2 separate regions of the Homo sapiens genome follow, and region 2 is linked to region 1. The links are contacts of gene promoters, found by promoter capture Hi-C in blood cells and fetal thymus (Javierre and others, 2016). All regions are on one chromosome and are shown on one strand. The core of a region is centred on a gene start or on the middle of the fragment in contact, and the rest is flanking DNA. Distances in the headings are between cores, read along the strand shown. Region 1 holds the start of ANKRD44 (ankyrin repeat domain 44). Region 2 has its middle 47 kb from the start of ANKRD44-DT.

Region 1 (6,523 bases), core at 3,246-5,745:
CCTTATGGGTTGCTCTATAAATGGGTCACAGCATCACACTCAGATGTGATACATATTGCCTCTAAAATCCAAGGATACCCAGAAAGTATTGTGTCTCTTTTCTTAGTGGTAGATGGTACAAGGTGAAGTAATTTGTCTTTTACGTTGGGGAGAATATCCTGGTGTTTTCTAGACCACTGGACCTCCAGAAACTTCACTAAGGTGATGAATTTTCTTGGGGTTTATACCCAATCTCTGGCTCACATGTGTGTTGTTAAGGCAGCTAAAATATTTGTTACTTCCTGTTTATCAGGGCCAGTCAGCTCGATGTCTTTAACATAGTGATCAAGACCTGTGCAGATGAGATTATGCCAGAGAGTGGGAGTGTTTACATCCCCTAGAGAAGACTGTAAAGGTGTACTGTTGATCTTGCCATATAAAAGAAAACAACTTTTGGTGAAAATTGAAATAGATAAAAAGCATTTGCCATATCAATAGTGCACACCAGGTGCCTAGGGCTGAGTTGCTTTGTTGCGGTAAAGACAGCATATATAGAATAGCAGCTGCAACTGACATTACCATTTGATTAAGTTTACAACTTAATAACAAATCATAGTTATTCTCTAAGATCTTTTGCATAGGCCCAACAGGTGAGTTAAATGGAGATGTGACAGTATTATCATTCCTGTATCTTCTACGTCTTTTCTGGTGGTACCAATTTCTACATATTTCCAGGGATTGAGCATTGTTGTTGGTTTTCTATTCTGGTATCAAGAGGAAATTCCAGAGGCTTCCATTTGGCCTGTCTTACCATAATAAACTTCACTCTGTGGGTCAGAGAAATGATGTTAGGATTCTGTTAGTTACTGAGTATGTCTATTCTAACTAACAGTTGAGGAGATAACTATAGTTTGGGTCTGCAGAGCTACTGGATCCACACTGATTTATACTTAGTTAAAAATTTCATTTATCACCTACCATAGATCCCCATTTTGATTGGTGGATCCAGTGGTGTTTGCAATCCTCAGGAATTAGCATTAATTCAGAAGCAGTGTCAGTGATCCCTCAAATGTCTGGGTATTTCCTTTTTCCCAGTACTCGCTCAGCCTAGAAAAATACATCAGGTTCCTTTGGATAAGGCTTGGATGAGGATTTGTAGTATATATTTATGACAATGCTGCAAGACCCTCCTGAAGGGGACCAGCTTCCCTTTTAATCAAGGAGCTCTGTGTCTGTGAACTCATTTAGGTACGGAAACTGAATGAAAGATAATTTCATTTTGATGGCTCAAGGGAGCTTTCAGGTGGCAGATGTAGAGTTTTGTCTGTTATAAAGATCAATGGCTATTTCCAAAGTCTGCCCGTCTATTTCATTCCTAGGACAACCTAGGGCACTGCCAGATATACCTGTAGGTTAAGACCTTTAAGTACTACTTTGTCTCTGCTGTCCATTACAGTAAATGTGTCCACCTTGTCTCTGCCAGCTAAGTGCTGCCACTTGGCCATTGCTGTCGCAGGATCCCACTAATATAAAAATCAAGGAGCCATCTCAACGAAAGCATCTCCCACCATCATATCCAGCTACTAGAGAGTTTTTCTGACGTTCTCTCTCGAATGTATTTTTCTTTCCTTTTCTTTTTTTTTCTTTTTGACAGAGTCTTGCTTTGTTGCCCAGGCTGGAGTGCAATGGCGCGTCATTGGCTCAGTGCAACCTCTGCCTCCTGGGTTCAAGCGACTCTCGTGACTCAGCCTCCCAAGTAGCTGGAACTACAGGTGCATGCCACCACGCCTGGCTAATTTTTTGTATTTTTAGTAGAGACGGGGTTTCACCATGTTAGCCAGGCTGGTCTGGAACTCCTGACCTCAGGTGATCCACCTGCTTCAGCCTCCCAAAGTGCTGGGATTATAGGCATAAGCCATGGTGCCTGGCCTGTATTTTTCAATGCTTCAGTATAAAGATCATCATCTGGCTCTCCAGGAATATGTAGGGGTTGGCTGTACAGATTATACATGATAAAATTATTCCAACATTCCCATCTCCACAAATCTTTGGATTTCTTTCTCTACATTATACCAGGGGCATTCTGGCTTCTCAAGCTCACCGAATATAGTCAACTGCTGAGTCTGAGTCTCATTTAATGAAGTAAACAAAGTGTTTGAATCACTGTCAAAGTACTGGCTAACACATTAAAAGCAGACCTTCTGATAAGTGTAGTCTTATCAATAAATTTTGCCAAATCTTCTGCTCCCTATTTTATTTGGAACTTGGCCACGAGTTGTTCAACCTTTCACAAAGTCAGGTCACCTATGACAACACCAATCTTGATATTTGAATTCCTAACACTATATGTTCACATCTGTCTGCATTTGTAATTCTCTCATTCACAAAGCCTCTCCATATAGGTGGAAGCATCTTACTGCTTTGTTTTGTCAGAAGACAAAGAGAGTTGTGTTTTACCACTTACCTACTGAAATACATATTCATTATAAATTACTCTCCTTTAATTTTTCCTTTATTGTACAATTAGGACAATATATTGTTGCTGGTTTTTTTTTTTTTGAAATTTGTATTGGTAGGTAATATTATCCACAAATTACCTTTCAGGATAGTAAGGGGAGTGTTAAAGATACTAGTTACAAAAAGAGGATGATGGTCTGATTGGGTGGAGAACTGCTGCCTCCTCACTTTGGCCCCAGGAACTTAGGTGCAGGCATGTCCGCGATGAATCAAATTGGATCTTGAGTGAATCTTCCAAATTAAGTCATTTGTTATCACTCTTCTGAAAGATGGCTCTATTTAAGTAGAGAATGCAGGGTCCTATTCAGTTTACTTACAAAGCCATGCAGGGTGTTCAGTAAATAGACATACCAATAACAGCAGTGAAGAACTGACTCATAGATGCAACATAAACAATCTGTTGTATGTCTGAGAAAGGCCTTAGAATTTTTTGTTTGTTTGTTTCCATGCAACATTGATAACAGAGGAGTGGAAGCCAGGAACAAAGTTCCTTGGTTCTTCTTGTCTGCATGATCTGAATTATAATCTATAAGACTAATAAAGGTAAATTTGAGATTTAGCTGCTTCGACAACCAGAGTGGCTGGATGGTAAATGTGAGGATATTAATGCTCCTTTCTCTCCTGTCTCATGTGGAATCTTTGGGGGAGGTTCTAAGAGTAGGGAGGAAGAATGGACATTTGGTTTGTGAATATACAGTAGAGGCAGATGTTTGGTCTTGACCAAAGAATTCTGTAGCTCTAGTTTGCTCTTCAAAGCTGTTCAATGCTGCCCTACAGGTTTGCTCTATGGCCTGCCAGGGGCACATGGGGCTGCCTGGGAGCACTTCCTCTCCACTTGCTTACTTAATTCTCCCTTCTCCAGATCTCAACTCCTGTCACTTTCTCAGGGAAGCCTGCCCTCACCCACCAGTCTGGTCTGATTCCTTTGTTGTGGGTTCACTTCAGAAGCATGTTTTCCCTTGAGATCCCTTATCTCAGTTTGTAATTACATTCATTAGCAGAGACTATGCGGTTTATGTTGGCATCTTCTGAGAGCAGGTTATCTTATTTATGCTCTCCGTTTATTCCCGTGCCTAGCCAGTGCCTGACAAGGTAGGGACTCAGTACATAGCTGTTCAATGAATAAGTGTTTGCTCCAAATTCCAGAACTATCAACAGCTACTATGCTTACGAATATGCCCGTTGTATCTGTAGCCCATGGTGTTTGACAGCTGTCTTCTATTTGTTGAAGAGCTTGGTAACTTGGGATTTTGTAGAGATCAGTAAGGACTGGTGGGAACACCCAAAAGACCCATCAACTCGGTGATTTAGGACTGCTTTGCTTCTCCAGGAACTCCACTCCACCCCCACCAGCAAAAACCAAACCCAGGGTGTTTGAATTTAACAATAGTATGTGTGTGTGCATATGTGTGTGTGTGTTTAGCTGGAAAGTGGCTGGAGAACAAGGTGGAAGGGCCAGAGCTTCTGTTCCCTCCACCCATAAATGTTTGGCAAACACCCTGTAAAGAATCACAATGTGTCCGCTGCCTCCTGGCATTAAACAAAGGGAGCATCATAATTGCGGTCCCTGGGATCTTCGGGGCGCTGCCACCACCTGATTCTGGGTTAGGGGAAGGGGGCGTAACCCCATCTCCCCGGTTAAAGTGGACGGCATGTGAGTGAGAGCCTTTCCTGCCCCCTCGGGGTGTGTCCCCGCGGGCTTCCCCACCCATATGTGTGAGACCCGTCAGGGAGGCCCGCGATCCGCCCAGGGCCCGGGGCCGGCCCGGCCGGGCGCCGCGTGCAGGTGCGGAAGGCAGGCGGCGGCCCGGTGCGGGCGCGGGGGCAGCGCCGGGGGCCGGGCTGCGCGGCTCGGCTGCGGGCGGCAGGAGGCAGCGTCGGCCCAGGCGGCGGGCGGCGAGCGAGCCAGCGCGCGGTGATGTCAGTGGCGGCCCGGCTGGCAGCAGCCGGTACTTCCTGTGGAAAGGCGGGCGGGCTCGGCTGCAAACCCCACTAGCCAGTGTCAGCCTCTCGGCGGGAGGAGGCGGCGGCGGAGGAGGAGCAGGGGGAGGGCTGTCAAATTCGGGAGCCAGATTTTTTCCCTTCTCCTGGCAATCCCTTCCGCTTCCCCGGCTCCCGGCGTGACATCTGCGGGCCGGGGACCTGCATGTGTGTGCGCGCGAAGGAGCGGAAGAATGGCAGTGCTCAAACTCACCGACCAGGTAGCGGGCGGCGGCGCCGGCGGGCGGGACGCGCGGGCGCGGGGCGGCGCGGAGCCCGGCGGGGGGATGGGGGCGCGGCTGGAGCGCGCCCGCGAGCTGTTTACTCGCGGCGAAGGGGAGGACTGTGTGCGGCCGCCGGTGCCTCCGAGAGCCCGCGGCGGCAGCTCCCCTCCGCCGCGCCGTCCCCGCCCTGGGCCGTCGGAACTGCGCGCCCGAGTCTGGGGCAGGGCCCGTGGGCGCTGGGCAGCCGGCGTGCGGGAGTGCGGCGGCCGCGGGCCCGGCGGGGCTGGGGAGGGGGCCGGGGGCTCGAGGTGCTCTCGGGACTCGCACCGCGCCGCGTTGCGTGGGCGCCGCCGGCCCGGGCCCCGGGGAGGAGGACGCTGCACGAAGAGGGAGAAAGGATCGCAGACTGGGACCCCTCCCCAAACCTAGCAGGAGTCCTGCCCAGAATGCGGCTCTTGTGTGGCCGGGCTGTCTTTATTTATCCGTTGGATGTGACATCCGACTTCCTCTTTAGTTGCGCCAGGCTGTGTGCGTGGTGCGGGATGGGGACCCCTGGAGACCGCCCTTTCGGATCGGGCCGGTCCCTCTGAGGAGGAGGTGAAGTCGGCTCGGAGCCTCCACTCACAGGCGGTGGGCTACGGTCTGCCTGTGTCTACCAGCTTTGTTGGCTTTCCTTGCTGAGACACCACACAGGGCAGCTCTGGAGTCCTGGCTTGGAGAGGTGGGGTTATTTGCTGAATCGGATTGACAGTCCTCGCCGCAGGTCTGTGGAATGGTAACAGCCACCTTCGCGGACTCTGCTGCTCTTACATTGACACTAACAGGCACCAAACCAAGTTGCATGACAAAACTCTTTGCAGCTCTTTCCACGAAAAAAGGAAACGGCTTGCTACCCCCACCCCCGTTTATTCGTGGGTAGTGAAAGGAACTTTGTTTTGGGGTCCTGGTAGGCAGAGAGGCAATCTTGACTTTGACTACAGGGTCAGACTTGCCAGCCCTTGGTATTAAATACCTCAAACTTGTCCATGGGTTGCATCTGCTGCCTTGCGTTCTCCAGTTAGTATCCAGCCAGAACATCTTGCAACTGAAGTGCAGTCCGTCACCACAATGATTTGCAATGATTTGTTCTCCTGCCTTTTAGATTCAATTTTTTTAGCTTGTTTTTCCTAAATATTTACAGGTGTTTGGCGGGGTTGGTGATGGGGAAATCACTGAGTTAAAATTCATGTTATTGTTAAATTTAGTAAGAAGAGCAGCTGGTACTTGTGATGAATGTATTTGTTCTCATTGGTTCCAGAGCATTTAAAAGTGTAAGTTGATATCAGGATTTCCTTCACCTTTTGGTCACATACTTTGCCAACTGTTAGACATTTGCGTATTTTAAATCCTACAGTTTTAGCGTGTCTTGGGCCTGTCATCTTTGCTAGTACACGTTGCTGTACTTGTCTGTTAATCCCTAGATCTTCAAAGTACAAAGAATGGTTCTAATAGGTATTGTTATCACATATAAGAAAGAACATCACATAGAAGTTTAGAGTTGTAAGGACTCTAAGGATGATCTAGCCCAAACCCTTCATTTTCTAAATGACAAAACAGATCTGGAGAAGTGAAGCAAGTCTTCCTCAAAGAATGCCAGCTATAGGCCTGCAGGACTGGGACTAGCTCTTGTCTTCTGCCTTCCAGGTGCTTGTACTTTCTGCTACAGTTGGTATAGGATAGCTCCATCATCTCATTGGATGTGTTGTAAGGGTTACAAGAAAACATCTCTTCCTAGATCAAGATCAACCCTAGTGAGAAGTGTATTACTTGGTCTTACAAAGAGA
Region 2 (6,487 bases), core at 1,028-3,527, 48 kb before region 1:
ATACACTATTGCTAAAATTATAAATTGGTAAAAACTTTCTGGAGGGCAATATATGTTCATTAAAAATATCTGTATGCCACTTTTTCTAGGCACTCTGTTTCTAAGAATTTCTAAGAAAATAATTAGACAAAGGCACAAAGATGTAACTACAAGCGTATTAACTGTAATAGTATGTATAATGTGAAAAAAGTACAAAATAAGCATTAATTAGGATGAGAAAGCATATTTTAAAGGCACAGACAGTGCTAAATTCACCCATTAACTGCAAATTTTGATGATATTATCCATACAGGATTTGCTAAGCATTAAATAATTGGGGCTAGAAAGGTCAGTGAGAAATGTCTCAACTGCTTTACCATGGTGAGTTGACTGTGTAATAGGTACTTAATGGAGAGACAACTTGCCAAAATAGATAGCTGTCTCTCATACTGCCCTGGGGCCTGTTTTTTAATAAAGAACAATTTCAACCCACTTAGCAATGGTAAATGTAGTACAAAGCTTTCAGTTGTTTTGGAGGTAGGGGGAAGAAATCCTAAGCTGACTCAAATAACACAGAGACAGACTAGAATTTCAATGGAAACCAGATGTTCTCATTGTGGTTGTCTTTTAATGGCTATCAACAGTCAAACCCTAACCCCACATCTTCAACATAGACAGTCCAAAGTGAGTCATCCACTAATGACTGGACAAATTACCTGGCTCCTTGTGCATGAGAAGTGCTAGCAGCTTTGGTTTGTGGAGTACTTTCTATGTGCTGGGCCCCATGCTGAAGTATTATACCTATCTTACCTCATTTAATTCTAAGAAACCTGTAGAATCAAATATTTTCCCCATTACAAAAATGAAAAAAACAAATGAGACTATAAGAAGTTAAATGACTGAGTTAAGGTCATCCGGTAGGGATTCAGGCCTGTGTCTGACTCCACAGCCTGGCTTTTTTTTTTTGGAGGCAGGGTCTCACTCTGTCACCCAGGCTGGGGTGCAGTGATGCAATCTCAGCTCACTGCAACCTCTGCCTCCTGGGCTCAAGGGATTTTCTTGCTTTATCCTCCCGAGTAGCTGGGATAGCTGGTGCCTGCCACCACACCTGGCCAATTTTTGTATTTTTTTTGTAGAGACAGGGTTTCACTATGTTGTCCAGGCTGGTCTCGAACTCCTGACCTGAAGTGATCCACCTGCCTCCGCCTCCCAAAGTGCCGGGATTACAGATGTGAGCCACTGTGCCCAGACTTCCACAATTTGGCTTTTCACTTTCACAGTATACAGGACAGCAGGGCTGATATTTGACCAGTAAACACCAATGTGACCACAGTGATTTTCTAAATATTAGAATATTTCCACACTAACTGGTGCCTGGCTGCTGCCCTTAGCCTCTCTTCTGCTGCCCTCCTCTGGGATCCCTGGACAGCCTCTCACAGCCACTAGAGGGCCACACCTGGCCCAGCAGGGGCCCCTAGGGGCCCTTCTGGGGCCTGCTGTTTCCCTAATGTGAGGGTCATTAAGTTTCTGCATATCCCCCATGGTATGGTTTAGATGTTCCTCCCCTCCAATTATGTTGAAACGTGATCCCCAATATTGGAAGTGGGGCCTGCTGGGAGGTGTTTGGGTCATGGGTACTGATCTCTCATGAATGGCTTAGTGCCCTGTAATGAGTTCATGCAGGATCTGATTATTAAAAAGAGTCTGGGACCTCCCTCCTCCCTCTCTTGTTCCCTCTCTTGACATGGGACTCACTCTCCCTTTGCCTTCCACCATGAGTAGAAGCTTCCTGAGGCCTCACAAGAAGCTGAGCAGATGTTGGTGCCATGCTTGTACAGCCTGCAGAAACATGAGCCAAATAAACATCTTTTCTTTATGAATTACTCTGCCTCAGGTATTTCTTCATAGCAATGCAAAATGGACTAGCACACCCCCCGAGTAGAGAAGGTCTCTAGTGAGCCTAGGGCAGAGGAGAGATCACTTCTCCAAGTGACAGCTTTGTTATTTTTCATCTCTAGCTACTGTATTTCATATGTTAAAGGTTTCCTGCCATACCAGTTATAAGTTGATCCCATGTTCACTTTTTGGTGCCACCCAGAATCCCACAAGAGAAGCCTGGCCTTTCTATGTTGCCTCATCATTCCTGGGGGGCCTCACTTTCTCACATCCAGCTCAGTACTGTCAGCTCCAGGGTATAGCTAAATCTTGGGGCATTTGCAATTTGGGGGAATTTCATTTGATCTAAGACATAATTGACTGCCAGATGCACCATTATTTTATGGACCAGGAATGAAAATACTACTACTGAAACCACGACACAATGATAGTGATGTGTCTTATATGAATCACTCACACCAGCATCTTGTTGCTTTGAAATTCCTTTCATCTATTCTGAAGGGCTCAGCAATTTCCTCTGCCTTCAGTTGCCAGGATGGGCAATCCTTGTGCACACTTCTCAGTAGCAAAATGCAACACAGATTCATCTTCTTGTGGGTATCTTCCTTTCTTAGGTTCTAGAAAGGCTGTGTTTGATTTTATTGCTTTGCTAAACGTAGGTAAATGTGGTCATTCCTTCTAAGAATTTTTATGTCTCTCACACCAAATCCACATTCGACTGTTGTTTTCATTCTCTGCTGTGCTATCTCTATGGAAACTTTTCCTATTGACATTGAATGCTAGTGTAATCATTTTGAAGACATTTAAAACAGGGATTGAAACACCTATATTATCAACAGTGCATATAACTCAATTGTGACAATATTGTCAGCAGCTGCAACCAAGTTCTTTTGAGCACAGGCAGAGACAAGCTTGTGATTACTGCCTGGCCAACAATGATTACGAGATGTATCCTGATTTGGAAGATTTTTAAATTTGAAAAGAGTGTGTTTTAGAATGGAGTTAAATGCACTTTGTTTATTTGAGGTGAATCAACTGAATTTTGCAGATGCAAAAACTGAGACTCAGTGTAGTTAATCATTTTGTTTAAAGTCGCAGGCCTTGTAATCGGTGGAGCTGGAACCCAATTCCAGGTCTGTCTGAATCTGAAACCCATGCTTCGTCCCATAACAAGTTGATAATTCATGTAGGGAGAAAAGTCAAATATTTATGGACACTGTTGGTATTGGTGTCTCACCTTGTCCCTGTGGAAATACTGAGCAGTTCTGTGTTCTCATCTGCAGCTTCCATGGGCTTACCTCCTATCCTAATAGCTGAAACCTATAACCTTCTTCAGAGAACTGCCCTTGGGCTACAGAAGCAGCTTACCCTGGATGTTCTCAAGAGTGAAAACTACTCAGGAGTTTTCATGCCTTCAGGGCAGCCCAAGGTGATAGCTGAGGAGTGAAGGAGCAGGAAAGCCGAGCTCTTCTGCCTTGAGGCAGGACAAATTGTGTGGTGTAACTGACCCTCCTGGATCAGGCTGAGGCTAGGACTTCAGCCTGCCTTCTGGCTTCCTCCCTTTCCCTATTCTGCTTCCCCAACTCTCTTACTGCTTTCTCCTGGGAGCCCTTTCTTAACAAATCACTTGCACACATGTTCTCATCTATCAGCTTCTGAGAAACCTGACCCAAGACAATGAAGAAACTGGTGAATAAGGCAGCGTTATGAATAGCACAGTAATGCCCATTGATGATGTTTGTTTGTTTGTTTTTGAGACAGAGTCTTGCTCTGTTTCCCAGGTTGGAGGGCGGTAGCTTGATCACAGCTCACGGCAGCCTCGACATCCTAGGCGAAAGCGATCCTCCCACCTCAGCCTTTCAAGTAGCTGGGACTACAGGCATGTGCCACCATGGCTGGCTAATTAAAAAATATATATTTTGTAGAGATGGAGTCTCACTATATTACCCAGGCTGGTCTTGAACTCCTGAGCTCAAGTGATCCTCCTGTCTCGGCCTCCCAAAGTGTTGGGATTACAGGCGTGAGCCACCATGCTCAGTCCCACTAACTATGTTGATTGAAGCACTTACCTTCATCACTTCCAGTCCTTGGGGAAGTCTTCTAATTCTGAGTCTCTGTTACAGTTTGACTGAGTAATTCGACTTTCACCTTCAAGTTCTAGGACCGGCTGGGTGCAGGGGCTCACTCCTGTAATCCCAGCATTTTGGGAGGCTGAGGCAGGTAGATCGCCTGAGGTCAGGGGTTCGAGACCAGCCTGGCCAACATGGTGAAACCCTGTCTCTACTAAAAATACAAAATTAGCTGGGTGTGGTGGCGTGCACCTGTAATCCCAGCTACTTGGGATGCTGAGGCAGGAGAATCGCTTGAACCCAGGAGGCAGAGATTGCAGTGAGCCGAGATCACTCCATTGCACTCCAGCCTGGGCAACAGAGTGAGACTCTGTGTCAAAAAAAAAAAAAAAAAAAAAAAAAAAAAAAAAAAAAGTAAAAAAGTTCTAGGACCTTTAGCTCTTATTAAATCCTATCCCCTCTGGACCCCAAGTGAGACCCCTGTGGACTCCTGGTCCTAGTGATAATCTCTGCCATATTCAACATCAGTTGCTGGGCTGGAGGCTCTCTGAAACTGCCACTAGGAATCCTGTTTTCATTCTTGTCACTCTTCAGACTCAAATCTAGATTATTCTAGAGGTGGTGTCCCTCAGCTCTGCATTTGGGATTAGTAAAGTCTGGATTTTCCTTCTGTTTTCTTTTTATAAAAATTTTGATTGGAATCATACAGTGTTGAAATGGGAAGAGTGCTGAAAGGTCATCTGGCCATCCAGAGAAAGGAAGAGACTTACTCAAGGTCAAAGAGTCGGCTGGGGAAATGTGCCTCGAAACCCAGTTCTGTTTCTTGTGCTGCCATGCCCTTTGCTCTGGGGCTGATATATTTCTGAGTTAAGATACAGAACAAATCTGGTTTCAAGGAGGAAAATTCCCTCCATTTTGTGTGATAAATTCAAATCTCATTTATATTTAAATTATTCTTCCTTACAATACTCAGAATCCTCAAGACCCTCACACTTTTCTTTCCGCACAGAAACCAAATCCCTTCATCTCTTATCTGGGGTTCCCTAGAAACTTTCATTTATTTCTTGGGGAGGGGGCAATGAACATCTCTGACTCAGGCAAGGCATTGTAGAAGAGCCGCATCAGAATTCTGTCTTCATCTTAGAATTTGATCCTTACTTGCTTGTACCACTAGAGGGAAAAAAGGAAATGGCTAGTCTTTGTGCCCTCCCTGCTCAAATCTCAACTTGAATTTAATCCCCAGGTACTGAGGGAGAGACCTAGTGGTGGGTGATTGGATCTTGGGGGTGGTTTCCTCCATGCTGTTCTTGTGATAGTGAGATCTGTTCTCGTGAGATCTGATGGTTTTAAAAGGGAGCTTTCTCTGCTCTCGCTCTCTCTCGCCTGCTGCCATGCAAGATGTGCCGGCTTCCCCTTCACTTTCTGCCATGATTGTAAGTTTCCTGAGCCACGTGGAACTGTGAGTCAATTAAACCTCTTTCCTTCATAAATTACCCAGTCTTGGGTATTTCTTTATAGCAGTGTGAAAACAAACTAATGTATCCAGAAAGAATATTCACTGAAAAAAAAACACTCCAGGTTTGTACTGCTGTGGTGTTGCCCACAGAAACTTTTTCTGGGGAAATAGGCTAAATTTAAGAGACAGCTGATTTTAGACTTTTTTTCGTTTTGTTTTGAGATGGAGTCTCGCTCCATCACCCAGACTGGAGTGCTGTGGTATGATCTCATCTCAATGAAACCTCCGCCTCTCGGATTCAAGTGATTCTCCTGTCTCAGCCTCCCGAGTAGCTGGGACAACAGGTGCCCGGCACCCACCACCACGTCCAGCTAACTTTTTTGTATTTTTAGGAGAGACGGGGTTTCACCATGTTGGTCAGGCTGGTCTCCAACTCCTGACCTCAGGTGATCCACCTGCCTTGGCCTCCCAAAGTGCTGGGATTACAGGCATGAGCCACCGTGCCCGGCCTTTTTTTTTTTTTTTTTTTTTTGAGACAGTGTCTCACTGTGCTCACCAGGCAGAGGTGAGATCATAGCTCACTGTAGCCTCAAACTCCTGGGCTCAAGTGAACCTCCCACCTCAGCCCCAAGTTGTTGGGATTACAGGCACTTGCCACTAATGCCTGTTTTTTTTGTTTTGTTTTGTTTTTGTTTCTGTTTTTGTTTTTGTTTTTCTTTTGAGACGGAGTCTCACTCTGTCACCCAGACTGGAGTGCAGTGGTGTGATCTCGGCTCTCTGCAATCTCTGCCTCCTGGGTTCAAGCAATTCTCCTGCCTCAGCCTCCCCAGTAGCTGGGATTACAGGCACCCACCACCACACCTGGCTAATTTTTTTGTATTTTTAGTAGAGATGGGGTTTTGCCATGTTGGCCAGGTGGTCTCAAACTCCTGACCTCATGATCCGTCTGCCTCGGCCTCCCAAAGTGTTGGGATTACAGGCGTGAGCCACCGCGCCCGGCCCCGGTTTGTTTTTTAATGCATCATAATCCTGTATAGGAAGGGCATTTTTTCCAAACTTTACCAGCCTGAAGCAGTATTATGAGGGT

Evidence for each region. The method cuts DNA at HindIII sites, captures the fragments that hold promoters and counts their contacts. A CHiCAGO score of 5 or more calls a contact.
Region 2: a fragment that was not itself captured here is called in contact with the fragment with the promoter of ANKRD44 in region 1 in 2 of 17 cell types (activated CD4 T cells and naive CD8 T cells); the score reaches 6.6 in activated CD4 T cells.

The regions. Positions count from the first base shown.
Region 1 is chr2:197,308,752-197,315,274 of GRCh38, reverse strand. ANKRD44 (ankyrin repeat domain 44) reads left to right here and starts at 4,495. Exons shown (of 28, transcript NM_001195144.2): 1 at 4,495-4,697. The coding sequence starts at 4,671. It overlaps ANKRD44-DT (ANKRD44 divergent transcript), which reads right to left and starts at 4,209. Exons shown (of 4, transcript XR_923750.3): 1 at 2,577-4,209; 2 at 958-1,086; 3 at 791-806. RefSeq lists silencers at 4,180-4,259, 4,270-4,589, 4,640-5,019 and enhancers at 5,143-5,644, 6,096-6,155. The HindIII fragment of the contact is 14,364 bases long and covers 1-6,523 here.
Region 2 is chr2:197,355,010-197,361,496 of GRCh38, reverse strand. No RefSeq gene overlaps it. Among named protein-coding and RNA genes, the nearest start is that of ANKRD44-DT, 47 kb to the right of the region's middle. The HindIII fragment of the contact is 1,022 bases long and covers 1,767-2,788 here.